Linked DNA regions of Homo sapiens: region 2 is linked to region 1. Evidence: promoter capture Hi-C in human tissues and cell types (Jung and others, 2019). All regions are on one chromosome and are shown on one strand. Each heading gives the region's core, a stretch centred on a gene start or on the middle of the fragment in contact. The rest is flanking DNA. Distances are from core to core; before and after follow the strand shown. Region 1 holds the start of TSPAN9 (tetraspanin 9). Region 2 has its middle 51 kb from the start of CRACR2A.

What was found. The method cuts DNA at HindIII sites, captures the fragments that hold promoters and counts their contacts. A contact is called where the count stands out against the background at its distance.
Region 2: a fragment that was not itself captured here is called in contact with the fragment with the promoter of TSPAN9 in region 1 in 1 of the 25 tissues and cell types used here (dorsolateral prefrontal cortex).

The regions. Positions count from the first base shown.
Region 1 is chr12:3,075,129-3,081,827 of GRCh38, forward strand. TSPAN9 (tetraspanin 9) reads left to right here and starts at 2,251. Exons shown (of 9, transcript NM_006675.5): 1 at 2,251-2,325. RefSeq lists silencers at 1,757-1,806, 1,857-2,356. The HindIII fragment of the contact is 4,780 bases long and covers 1-4,430 here.
Region 2 is chr12:3,800,866-3,806,927 of GRCh38, forward strand. No RefSeq gene overlaps it. Among named protein-coding and RNA genes, the nearest start is that of CRACR2A, 51 kb to the left of the region's middle. The HindIII fragment of the contact is 5,252 bases long and covers 2,064-6,062 here.

The DNA.
Region 1 (6,699 bases), core at 1,001-3,500:
TCTGTCGACCAGGCTGGAGTGCAGTGGCACGATCTTGGCTCACTGCAACCTCCGTCTCCCAGGCTCAAGCAATTCTCCTGCCTCAGCCCTCCGAGTAGCTGGGATTACAGGCATGTGCCACCACACCCGGCTAATTTTTGTATTTTTAGTGGAGACGGGGTTTCACCATGTTGGCCAGGCTGGTCTCAAACTCCTGATCTCAGGTAATCCACCCGCCTCGGCCTCCCTAAGTACTGGGATTACAGGTGTGAGCCACCATGCCCATCCCCATAATTGGTATTCTTATGCCCCATTCCACAGGTGAGAAAACAGGCCTGAAGAGGTCCCAGCCGATAAAAGCAGAGCCAGGATTCAGACAGGTGTGTCTGGCTCCCAAGCCCTGCGGCTACTCCCTCACCAGGCTGCGTCCAATGGTCTGCCAGTGAGTTGGCTTGCTGGCAGACAATCCTAGTATATCTCTTTCCCTGTCTGAGACCCAGTTTCCTTTTCTGGGTACATGTACCCAACTCTGCCGCAGTGACTGGAGAGATTGGGGCTGGTGGGGGTTCCTTGGGAAGACTTTGTTATAGGGGCATTGAACAGGGCTTTGGATGAAGCAAAATGTAGAAGGAGAATATTTTCCTTGTGGGGAAAGGGAGATCAGAAGGAAATGGGTTATGGGTTTAGTCTAATAGACAAAAACAAGGTTGCATGTGTGTGACGGAAAGGGGCCCAGAAGATGAGTGGAAACTTCCAGTCTAATTAGCAGAAAGCAAAAGTGACCCTAGTGATTATAGCCAGGTTTTAAAAACTTGTCCCCAGTCAAGCTTAGTGCAATGGTAGGGCACGTGGGAAGCACAGCATACAGTTTCTTTAAAATTTAAAAAAATTTCACTTTTAAAGACAGGGTCTCCCTCTACTGCCCAGGCTGGAGTACAGTGGCATGATCCTAGTTTACTGCAGCCTCCAACGCCTGAGCCTCAGCCTCCGGAGCAGCTGGGACTACAGGGGTGTGCCACCACACCCGGTTAATTAAAACATTTTTTTTTTGAGATGGGGTTTCCCTATGTTGCCCAGGCTGTTCTTGAATTCCTGAGTTCCTGAGCTCAAGCAATCCTTCCACCTGGGCCCCCCAAAGTCCTGGGATTACACGCGTGAGCCACCACACCTGGCCTAGAAGACATTTTTGATGACAGTAATGATGAGAAGAGATGGCGTTTTAGTGCTCTTTGGAAACAAGTTTAGGCCTTCTAGCTTTAAGAATCCGGGCCTATAATCCCAGCACTTTGGGAGGCAGAGGCAGGAGGATGGCTTGAGCCCGGGAGTTTGAGACCAGCTTGGGCCCAGGGAGACCACCGTCTGTACAAAAAAAATCAAAAACTTCGCCGGACGTGGTGGTGCGCGCCTACAGTCCCAACTACTCTGGAGGCTGAGGCGGGATCACTTGAGCCCGGGAAGTCGAGGCTGCAGTGAGCCGTGATCGCACCACTGCACTCCTGCCTGGGCAACAGAGTGAGTCCTTGTCTCAAGAAAAAACAAAACAAAACAAAAAGCAAAAAACACATAAAATCCAGGCCTGAAAAAGCGCCCGGGCCAGACATGCCTAGCTGGAGTTTCTCCTGCCTTAGCGCACCCCTCAGGCACACGGTGCCCTGTAGTCGCCCTTGGAGGCCGCCAGCTCCTGGGGAGGCATGGCCCTTTCTGCGGGAGGTGTCTCAGGCAGGCTCCAACACACACCCGCGCTGTCAGCATCTCGCACAGTCCGCCCGAAACACCAGGGAAGGGGTTCGTAGGTGTGGGGGTGGGGTGGCGAGGCCAGGCAGCCTGGCGCGAGGGAGAGAGCCGAGGCCTGGGCCAGGAAGGCCCTTGGGTGCCGTGTGGGCGCAGAGCCCAGGAGAGCGCACTGCCAGGCCCGGACCTCCCCGCCCCTACCCCGGGAAGAGGCCCGTTCGCCGCAGGGGGAAGGCGGGATCATAGCACCTCGGAGGAGCGGCCGGTCCGGGCATGCGGGCGGCGGGGCGGGGAGGGAGGCTTCCGGAACCCCGAGAGAGCACCCGTGCCTCGCGGGCCCCGTGCCCCGTCCCCGGGCTCCCCTTCCTCTAACGCAGGGGACCCAGCCCGGGGCAGTGCCGGGCACTGGCGCTGGCGCCCCGCTCAGCCCTGCGATCCTTCTCCGCCCCGCCCCTCCCCGCTCCGCCCCGCCCCTCCCCGCTCCGCCCCCGGGCCGCCCCGCCCCGCAGGCTCGCCATTCCCGGGCAGGCCCCGCCCCCTGTTTCCGCTGGCGGCGGCGGCGGCGGCGGTGCCGGAGCGCGAGCAGAGCGGAGACCCCCAGGTCCTGCGGGCGCGGTGAGTGCGGCCCGGGCGGCGGGCGGCGAGGCGGGTCTCGAGAGCGTGCGGAGTCGCGCGGCCTTGAGCCGGCGCCGGGCGGGCTGGGCACCCCCAGGCCGAGACCCGAGAAGGGGGAGCGGCCGGGGGCGCCCACGGGAGGCAGTGTGGGCAGGGCGGCGGTGGGACGAGAGGACGAGGAACAGAGTAGGCGCCGTGCGGGAAGCGGGCCGGGAAGGGGAGGGTGGGTGCGGGGCCCGGGCACCGAGCGAAGTGGGGTCCTCCAGGGGATGGCTCCGAGGAAGACCGTTTCAGAAAGGGAGTAACCCGGGGCCGGCAAGGGTTTCCGACTGTGTGACCCCGTGCACCGCTTGGGACAGTCCATACAAGGACCCCAGAGAGGGCCAGGGGGCCTTCGGGCAGGGCTGGGATATGGCCTGCAGCCCCCCGGCACCCGCGACCGCTCCCTGGGCCACTGCTGGAAGATCAGCACTCCGAGTGACAGGACTCTGGCACATCCCGAAGTTGGAGATCTAGCCCATCTGTGCATTCAAGTTTGGGACTTCAAAAAACTTTCTTGTGGTTTTTAAAAAAAGATCCAAACAAGAAACCGGCTTGTTGTTGTAAGAGCAATATTTGTACTTGTACATCTTGGAACTGGAGTCTTGGATCTCCTCCCTCTTTGAAAAATATACGAGTCACTGCTTCATCTTCCCCCAAATGCCTGTTTTGTCTGGGGAAGCTTGGGCTAGTATGGGATCCCCTGAGCTACCTTTTTCTCGCATCACCAAAACGGGGGGTAAGAAGGCAGGGGCTTACCTGCCTTACCTGGTAACTCTTAGTTCAGAGACCCAGTCTCTCATTATGTGCGCGTGCCCTTCTGACCTGCAGCTGTCCTTTTCCCTGGGGTGACTCAGGTATTTCCTCCTCCAGGAAGCTTTCCTGGACTAGTGGAGAAAACTGAAGACTCATGCGAGGATCCCTATATATACCTGCCAGCTCCCTTCTCTTTACTGAAAATAGCCACAGAGAATGTTGAATATATGCTTTGCTATAGAGATACGCAGCCAGCTTGCCATCATAAGTAATGGGGAGGGGAGGAGAGGGATTATGGATAATTTCAAACAATAGCCTGGACAAATCATTTATATTTAGCTAAGGAATGCAGCCAGAGAGGCAGACAATTACACCGGCTTCCTACCCTCGGCTTGGTCCTGGCATGGCTGATGCAGCTGGGCTGTGGGTTGGAGGGAGAGGATTGGGGTAGATAAAACTTGAAGTGTAATTCAGTTCTACTCTCACTCACTGAAGACGCCCTGTGTGCAAGTCCCTGAACAGGTGAGAGTAGGATTTTTTTTTTTTTGGTCTGGTTTAATCAGATTTTAATATTCTGGCAGAGCTTTTTAAACCTATGAACAGATATTTAATATTAATAACAATAACTAGTGTTGATAAAGTAATTTATAGTTGGCCAAGTTTTTTCTATGCACGTTACATTAGCTGTATATAATTTTATTTAATTCATACGTAATCTTGTGAAATTTGTTACTTTTTTTTTTTTTTTTGAGACAGAGTCTCACTCTGTTGCCCAGGCTGGAGTGCAGTGGCAGGATCTCAGCTCACTGCAACCCCCGCGTCCCAGGTTCAAGCCATTCTCCTGCCTCAGCCTCCCGAGTAGCTGGGATTACAGGCGCGTGCCGCCACGCCTTCTAATTTTTGTATTTTTAGTAGAGATGAGGTTTTGCCATGTTGACCAGGCTGGTCTTGAACTCCTGACCTCAAGTGATCCACCTGCCTTGGCCTCCCACAGTGCTGGGATTATAGGCGTGAGCCACCGCATTGGCTGAAGTTTGTTACTTTTAATTGCCTTCTTATAGGTTAAGAAAATGATACTCAGAGAGAATAAGTATCTTATCTAAGGTCACAACACTCATTAAGTGAAAGAAGCAAAACTTGAACCCTGGCTTCTGACCTTCCTGCCTTGTGCCATCTATTCTGCCATCTGCCTCTCTGCCCTTCTTCTATTTTATTTATTTATTTTTTTCTGAGACAGACTTTTGCTTTTGTTGCCCAGGCTGGAGTGCGATGGCACTATCTCGGCTCACTGCAACCTCTGCCTACTGGGTTCAAGTGATTCTCCTGCCTCAACCTCCCAAGTAACTGGGATTACAGGTGCCCGCCACCACACCTGGCTAATTTTTGTATTTTTAGTAGAGATGGAGTTTCGCCATGTTGGCCAGACTGGTCTCAAACTCCTGACCTCAGGTGATCCGCCTGCCTTGGCCTCCCAAAGTGCTGGGATTACAGGCATGAACCACCGTACTTAGCCCCTTCTTCTATTTTTTTTTTTTTTTTTTAGAGACAGGGTCTTGCTTTGTTGCCTGGGCTGGAGCACAGGGACACAAGCAGCTCACTGCAGCCTCCAACTCCTGGGCTCAAGTGATCCTCCCACCTTAGCCTCCCGAGTAGCTGGGACTATAGGTACAGGCCCCATGCTCAGATAATTAAAAAAATTTTTTTTTTTTTTTTGGTAGAGACAGGGTTGTGCTATGTTGCCCAGGCTGGTCTCTGGTCTTGAACTCCTGGCCTCAAGCAATTCTCCTACCTTGGCCTCCCAAAGTGTTGGGATTACAGGCGTGAGCCACCACGCCCAGCCCCTTTCCTCTATGTTGAGCCTTGTCTTCACCTGGCACCACCTATTTGTGCAACCTTGGGCAATTTACCTCCTCTTTCCAACTCTCTGTTTTGGTGGTATATTGGATTAGAAATATTCTAGAGTCTCTTCCAGCATCAGATAATTAACAGTGTAAGATATTGGCAGCCACTCAATCAATTAGGAAGTGTGCTTTATATAAAAAATTCTAAAATTGTGGTTAAAAAAACACTGAATGTAAAATCTTTTTTTTGTTGTTGTTGTTTTTGAGATGGAGTCTCACTCTGTCGCCCAGGCTGGAGTGCAGTGGCATAATCACAGCTCACTGCAACCTCCGCCTCCCGGGTTCAAGCAATTCTCTGCCTCAGCCTCCCCAGTAGCTGGGACTACAGGCGCCCGCCATCACCCTCGGCTAAATTTTGTATTTTTTTTAGTAGAGACGGGGTTTCACCATGTTGGCCAGGCTGGTCTTGAACTCCTGACCTCATGATCCACCCTCCTCGGCCCCAAAAAGTGCTGGGATTACAAGCATGAGCCACCGCGCCTGGCAAATGTAAAATCTTAAGTGTACATTTTAACCATTCTTAAATGTACAGTTCAGTAGCATTAAGTCTATTTACATTGTTGTGCGACAGCTCCAGAAATTACCTTGTAAAACTGAAGCTTTAATATTCTTGAAACAACTGTTTCCCCCTCCTCCCAGCCTCTGGCAGCCACTATTCTGTCTGTTTAGTGTGCTTTATTAAGCTCCTGCTGTGTGCTTAGTAAATGCTGACCTTGAGGAATTAATCGGGAGAGTTGTGGAGAAGCAGCCCAGCTTAGGTGGGAAGCCCTTGAACCTGGGGTGGCTGGAGGGAGTGCCCCCTTTTCGCAGGCCTGTAACCCCAGGGCCAGCCAGCACTGTTAAGTGAATGAGTGAGTGGGTTGGGACTTGGGCGGATGCCTTCACCTCCTTTAGTCTCAGCTCCTTGCTTGCAAAATGAGGATAACAATACCAAGTACTCAGGGTGTTGGGAAGGAGCCATGAGCTGATGTATGTGAGGCACGTAGCTCAGGGCCTCATATACAGCAGGTGTGCAGTAAACGGTGGCTGTTATTTATAACCTCGTGGAGGAGACTGGACTAAGATGCTTGGAACAAGAGAGGACAAGACTTCTTTTCTCTGCCGTGAGGGCCCAGCCTGCAGTGGTTGTCATCCTCACTGACTAAGAGGGAGTGGATCTAATCCCGGTGCATTCGCCTGGCATTCAGCATCCTGCCTGTCTAGCCTTATCGCCACTCTCCTCCCTCCTGGAACCCTTGGTTCTAGCCAGACTTATCTCCCAAGCATGCTTTGCGCGTTCCTTCTTGGCCCCTTAGTTCATCCTCTTCCACCTTCCTGGTTGGTTCTTCCATCCCTCTCCTCTTTCAAGACCTTTCTCATGTCTGAGCTCCTCTCAAGACCCTGGCATCCCATCCCAAATGAACCTCTTTTTCCTGGGAACCCCGGTGGCATTTTCTGTCTTCATTTTGCTCCTGGCCTTTATATACTTCCTTGGGTGGTTCTCTAGTGAACTCCACAAACAGTGTATGTGTCACATGTATAAGAGTCTGTGCTGGGCTGGATGCGGTGCCTCACATCTGTAATCCCAGTATTTTGGGAAGCTGATGTGGGAGGATCACTTGAGCCCAGGGATTTGAGACCACCCTGGGCAACATAGTGAGGCCTCTGTATCTAAAAAATTGTGTGTGTGTGTGTGTGT
Region 2 (6,062 bases), core at 3,440-5,939, 730 kb after region 1:
TATTGGCTTATGTTAACCAAACCATGGCAGGAATTAAGCCAGCTTCAGGATGCTTGAAATCAGAAACCAAAAGGCCACCAGAACTCTCCTATCTCTCATATTTGCTTCTCTCTGTGTTAGTTTCACTTTTCCCTACTGAATACCAGCTTCTTACGCCCATGAAAGACAAAACCACTAGCATCACTGGAGTTGCAACTTCCCAGATCCATCACCAGATTTCCCTTAGTGACAATTCAAAATTCAAAAATACCAGGGAAGGGGTCAGACTGGGTCATGCACCCCTACTTAGGCCAAACACTGTGGACCAGCGTAGAGTACAAGACACTATGACTGAACCAGCTTGCATCTGGTATCCACCCCAAGAACAATCACTATAGATAAGGAGATAGCGTCTTGTATTCTAAAAGGTGGGAACAGGGGCAGGGGTAGAAAGCAGCTCTTCTTAGGTTCACATGTACAAGTTGAAGCAGGGGAGAACAACAGGCTACCACTGCTGTTCCAGGAAAAAGGAGCAGTGCCCACCACACTCTCCAACGACGTTCTGTCTTCCACATTGTTAATCTCCACTAATGACATCTCTGCGTACCCAGTCTTACAAACTGTGCCCCAACTTCTTAAAAACTCTGGTCAGTTCCTCAAACAAAACCCAAACTCCTTAACTTAAAATACAAATCCCTTTCCAACCATGCTTAACATTTTTTTTGTCTCCCCAAATTATTCTGTTCCATTCCCACTCCCTGCTTTCCCCACACGACCATGTGTTGCTGCTGCACACGCTTCAGACACGCAGGGCCCTTTCCTGGCTCTACACACTGGTCCGTGATTTGTAGGGATTGGATTGTCCTTTTTCACTTCTGTCACACGCTATTTTCCTACAAGATTCAGGTAAAACGTTGCCTTATTACCCTTAGGTTACACCTACCCTACTCTCCAGGAATAGCTGATCCCTTGGCTTTCTGCATTTCCCATGATAGGGAATTCATGTCTCTGACCAGCACTTAGCACATGGAATTATTTGTTTGATTACATAACTATCTCCTCAGTAGGCCAAGAGCTTCTGGAAGGTAAGGACCACACCTTGTTCATCTTGGATGTTAATCCAGCACAGGGCCTGGCATATAACTGCTGGCACATAGTGGATAGTAAATAAATATTTAATGACCAAAGCAACAATTTGAAACTTCTAATTTTAAGATTTGTTTGGTAGTTTTAACACCTGCAACCACATAATAACAAAACTAAGACTTTCTTCCTCTTTCTTCCTTCCTTCCAGAAATGAGAGTGAATTAATGGATAATGAATGTTTCCTTTGTTTTCATTATTTCTATCCAAAGTATTTCAAATTTATCCAATTTTATTGCAGCACCCGCCACCAGTATTGTCATCAACTTCTGAACCATTTTCCCTGTCATTAGTCCAAAATGGTGATATATTTTATTTTCCTTGAGTTTGAAAATATACACTAAATCTATGACCATCTAGATATTATAAAAGTATCAGGTGACTATTGCTGCTTCTGTTGAAGTTGGCAATGAAAAGTATAAGAGATATACAAAATCATACTATCCTTATCCATAAACCTGTCTGGCCCCCTGGCCCACTAACGGTTTTCTGGAATGGATGAGAAACAGATATGCCTGGAAGCCAAGGGAAATGGACATTAATAACTCAAAATCACAGATTTGTTCTCATTTATGTTGCCTGGCCTTTCTGTGGCTTGTTTTTTCTCCCCTGCATGCCAAGTTCCTTACTTATGTTTCTTGAGAGGCGAAGGATAGGGTGAGATCTGACACCATGCCACTGCAGTGTGACTTCTCCCAGACTAGCAGGGGTTTACTCATGGCCCCACAGAGGCCCTTCTCCTGGAACACGGCAGCCAGCAGTGATTATTGTATCTAAGTCTTGAGCAACTAGCATATGTCAGACACTGTGCTAAGTGCTCCATATACTCACACAGCCTCAGGTAATTCTCACAACAGCATTAAACTGTGAGGAAAGAGCAGTTCTGAGAAGCCGGTCAACTTCTGCAAGGCTACACGGCTAGAAAGCAGCAAATCTGGGTCTGTTGCCAGGATCACCTGACTCTAAAACCTGTGTTTTATTAGAACACATTGCTTTTCAAACACAAAATCCTGACACACACCTTTCACAATACTACTCTCCTGCTACAAAAATTCTTTAAATGAACAATATCAGTGCCAAGATCTTGCATATATGGCGGCAGCACAACACGATTACACTGGAAGATAGATCACTAGACTGGGAATCACACTGCCTGGGGTCTCTGCCTGGTTCTGACATGGAAACGTGATCGCAGGCATTCAGTTCTTCCTGTCTTCCACAGTCACAAATTGGCCTCACCTCAATTTTGTAGGAAGAGTATAAAAATTATACCTTTAAAATATTTGTGGTATACCATTTCAAGTCCTAAGACTTTGAGAGAAGGACTTCAGAAACATCTGGAGTTGATACGCCCCCTGTTTCAATTTGAAGCTAAGTTTATGGCCCATCTTTTCTGACACACATTTTTTTAAAAAGAGCATAGAATATCATATCTCAGAGGGCATATTGTGTTCTGAGGTGTTAACTTTACAATGTTAAGAACCCGAGTTCTTAACCCGAACCCCCAAGGAAGACAAAACTTGGGGGCTCCATAACTCAAGCATGATGGAGAACACAGCCAGGAGGTAGTGCCAGAGGTAAATAAGAAGCTGGGGAGTACAGCCAGAAGCACGTTAGGGGATTCAGAATCTTTCTGGCAAGGTGAGGGATGGGTGGATGGGTGAGCTGAAGGAGTAAGGTTGACAGGGAACTCACTGGTAACAGTCTTTCTGCGCACGGCCTCAGAAAATGGCCAACGATCTTTTTCTAAATTAACTTAAATTAATGCGACTTCACCTGAAGAAAGAAGGAAAACAGATTAGATGACAGTATGTGGCACGGTTATTTAGGAAGAATTTTCACCAGGCAAAATTCTAAAATAATAGACTAGGTTCCTATTGGGAAGATGTGTCCTTTTCCTAGCAGTTACTATAAACGGGATAAATACCTATGTCGGTGGATTTGACCAGGGGTTGTCCCACCTGGTGGCAGGGACTAGATAACTTCTGGAAGGTCCTTTGACCCTGCTCTCTAAAATGCAGCTATGAACTCAGCGCCCAGTTTGTTGTGCCAGTTCCGAAGCAAGATGCTGCCACCTAGCGTCTGCTGTTCTCACACGCAGTAGCACCTAACTGCCTACATACACTTTCATTAGAAAAGCCCTGATAATGTAGTCTGTCCTTCAGTCGGACAAAACAGGCCTAAACACTAAATCCATGTGGAAAATGGAATCAACATTAAATTATTTGTTAAACTAAAATATTCTTTTGAGAAGAATGTAAGAGCAGTCAGCACAGCAAGGAATCATGAAAATCCAGAGTTCACCTACATTGCCCGTGGGTCAACTACGTAAACAGCTAGAGAACATGCAGGGAACTCGTTCTGAGTGTCTTTAATGTATAGATATAGACCCAAGCAGTGGAATATACGAGGAAAGAAATTATAGATCAAGGCCGGGCGCGGTGGCTCAAGCCTGTAATCCCAGCACTTTGGGAGGCCAAGGTGGGCGGACCATGAGGTCAGGAGATAGAGACCATCCTGGCTAACACGGTGAAACCCCGTCTCTACTAAAAATACAAAAAAATTAGCCAGGTGGTGACAGGCGCCTGTAGTCCCAGCTACTCAGGAGGCTGAGGCAGGAGAATGGCGTGAACCCAGGAGGCGAAGGTTGCAGTGAGCCGAGATCGCACCACTGCACTCCAGCCTGGGTGACAGAGCGAGACTCCGTTTCACAAAAAAAAAAAAAAAAAAAGAAAGAAAAGAAAAGAAAAAGAAATTATAGATCAAGGTAAGAACCAATTTTCTAGCATTCAGAATTGTCTACAGCATGTAGTATTTCCTAATCATTGAAAGTATCCAGTACAAGCTGGAATACTTGTGGGAAAGCTGAAGAAGGCATTTAAACTAGCAAAACGGTTAACTGAAACACAATTTTATCCAAGACTTCTTATCCAAGACTTGGAGAACCTTGAAGGCAGAGATTTCACTACTGTGTCCTGTGTTTAGGATCGTGCCTGGTATGGAGTACAGGTACCCACTTGCTGGTTTGTTGAATGAGTAAATACATTCTCTTACAATTTCCCAGGAGGAAGAAAAGTAGCCCAAACAAAAGTTAGACAAGTTGAGAACAAAAAGAACAGCCTCTGACATTTAGAAACTGGCCTGGTACTCACAGCTAAGGCATGTTATTCTGATGAACCTAAACTATCTCACAGAAAACCAACCTCTGACAAGGTTATTCTGAGACCACAATAAAATGAGACAAAACAAGGTCATTTCATAATTGTGTCTAAGAACAGACAAAAATAAGGTCACTGTGCCACCCACAGAATACCAACCACTTCTCTCAGCCAGATGAGCAACTGCTTCTGCTTTGCTAATTACAGCTTATCCTCAGCTAGACTTCCCTCTCTATAGATAAGATTTATGAACATGCCAAATCATAGAATTGCCCCTGCTTTCTGACGGCATCCAATTAGAGTGAAATCCTAACTCCTCAGACCCTTCCCCATATCCCCAAAGCCCAAACCCTACAAAAGCTTTTCTTGCACCCTCCTACCGGGACACCCCATAGTTCCTCAGGGTGTGTGTGCTCTCTGGCTGCCATGAGTAATAAACCTAATTTGTTTAACTTACAGGGTTGCTCCTGGTGGTCTTTGGCCAAAGGGCACTGACCAAGTAAATGCTAAGAAAAAAAAAAGTTATGTCCCTACTTCCAAGTACACTATAAATACTGTATGAATCCTAGCTTGTGAGGGTTGTATTAGGTATAGAAGACTTCTTGAAAGACGAGGGGCCTTACGTATTAATACCCACCAGCATTTACTGAGGCTTCGTGCCGGGCATCATCCCAAACACTTCACAAGTATTACTTCATCCAGTTCTCACAACAACCCTCTAGGGTAGACACTATTATTATCACCACTTTATAGATGAGGAAACAGCAGCACAGAGAGCTTAAGCAACCTGCTCAAGTGAAACAGGTGGTAAAGGGTGGCGCCAGGAATCAACGTGGACGTCTGACTCCAGAGCCCATGCTTCAAATAGAGTTTTCAAGAGGGAGGAATATGACTGTGTGTTCTAGGGAGAGGCAAAAAGGCATAAGCAAAGGCATGGGGGCCAAGAAGGAACTCCTTTACCCAACAAGCTTCTTGATTCCCTTAAACTGTATAAAATCTTCACAATCCCTTCTCCACATACCCCTTACTGCTGGGTCCTGGTTCCCTTAAGGCTGACCCCAGGACCAGGCGCAGGGGTTTGGGGCAACACAATTTGAATGGTTTTGATTCTGTCATCTTTGTTTTAATGATAAAAACAATGTTCCAACTTTGCTTCTACCCCTATCTGGTTTTTCTCATCTCTCCAAAGCCTGATATGGCACAGATGGGTGTGGCTGGGGGACATAAAATCCTCCTTCCCTTAATTAACATCTACTTATCTTTCTATCTTCACATTCAAATGTCACTCCCCAGGAAAGCCTTCCCTAATTCCTGAGGACAGGTGAAATCCCTCTGTCAGAGCCTCACAGTGGCCTGAACTTCCCCTTCAGGAAAGTTCATCACTCTTGTCATTACAGTTCATTATGTCTTCCCTGCTAGACTTTAAGTTCCATGAGAGCAGAGGCCATGTCTGACTTGTTCAGTCCCTGGCACGCCACAAGAATTCAGAGCTGTGAACTAGAAAGGGAGTGGGGAAACTAATTAGTGGCAGAGTTTCATGGACAACCAGGTCCATTCTTTTTCCTTCCTACTGCAAGCCCTTGCTTCTTCTCAATGCATCATGATCCCTGCTATTGTATTTTCCCGACCCAAACTCAAAAATCATCTTCAGTCAGGTCAGATGTTGCCTAGGAAAATCTAGCTGTGCTCCGTCAGGTCTTTTTCTCTCAACGAGAGTCTGATTGGTCTATCATAAACTTCACCTTCTGAAAAGTGAACCTTCCCTCTCTGGTGAGTTATCCA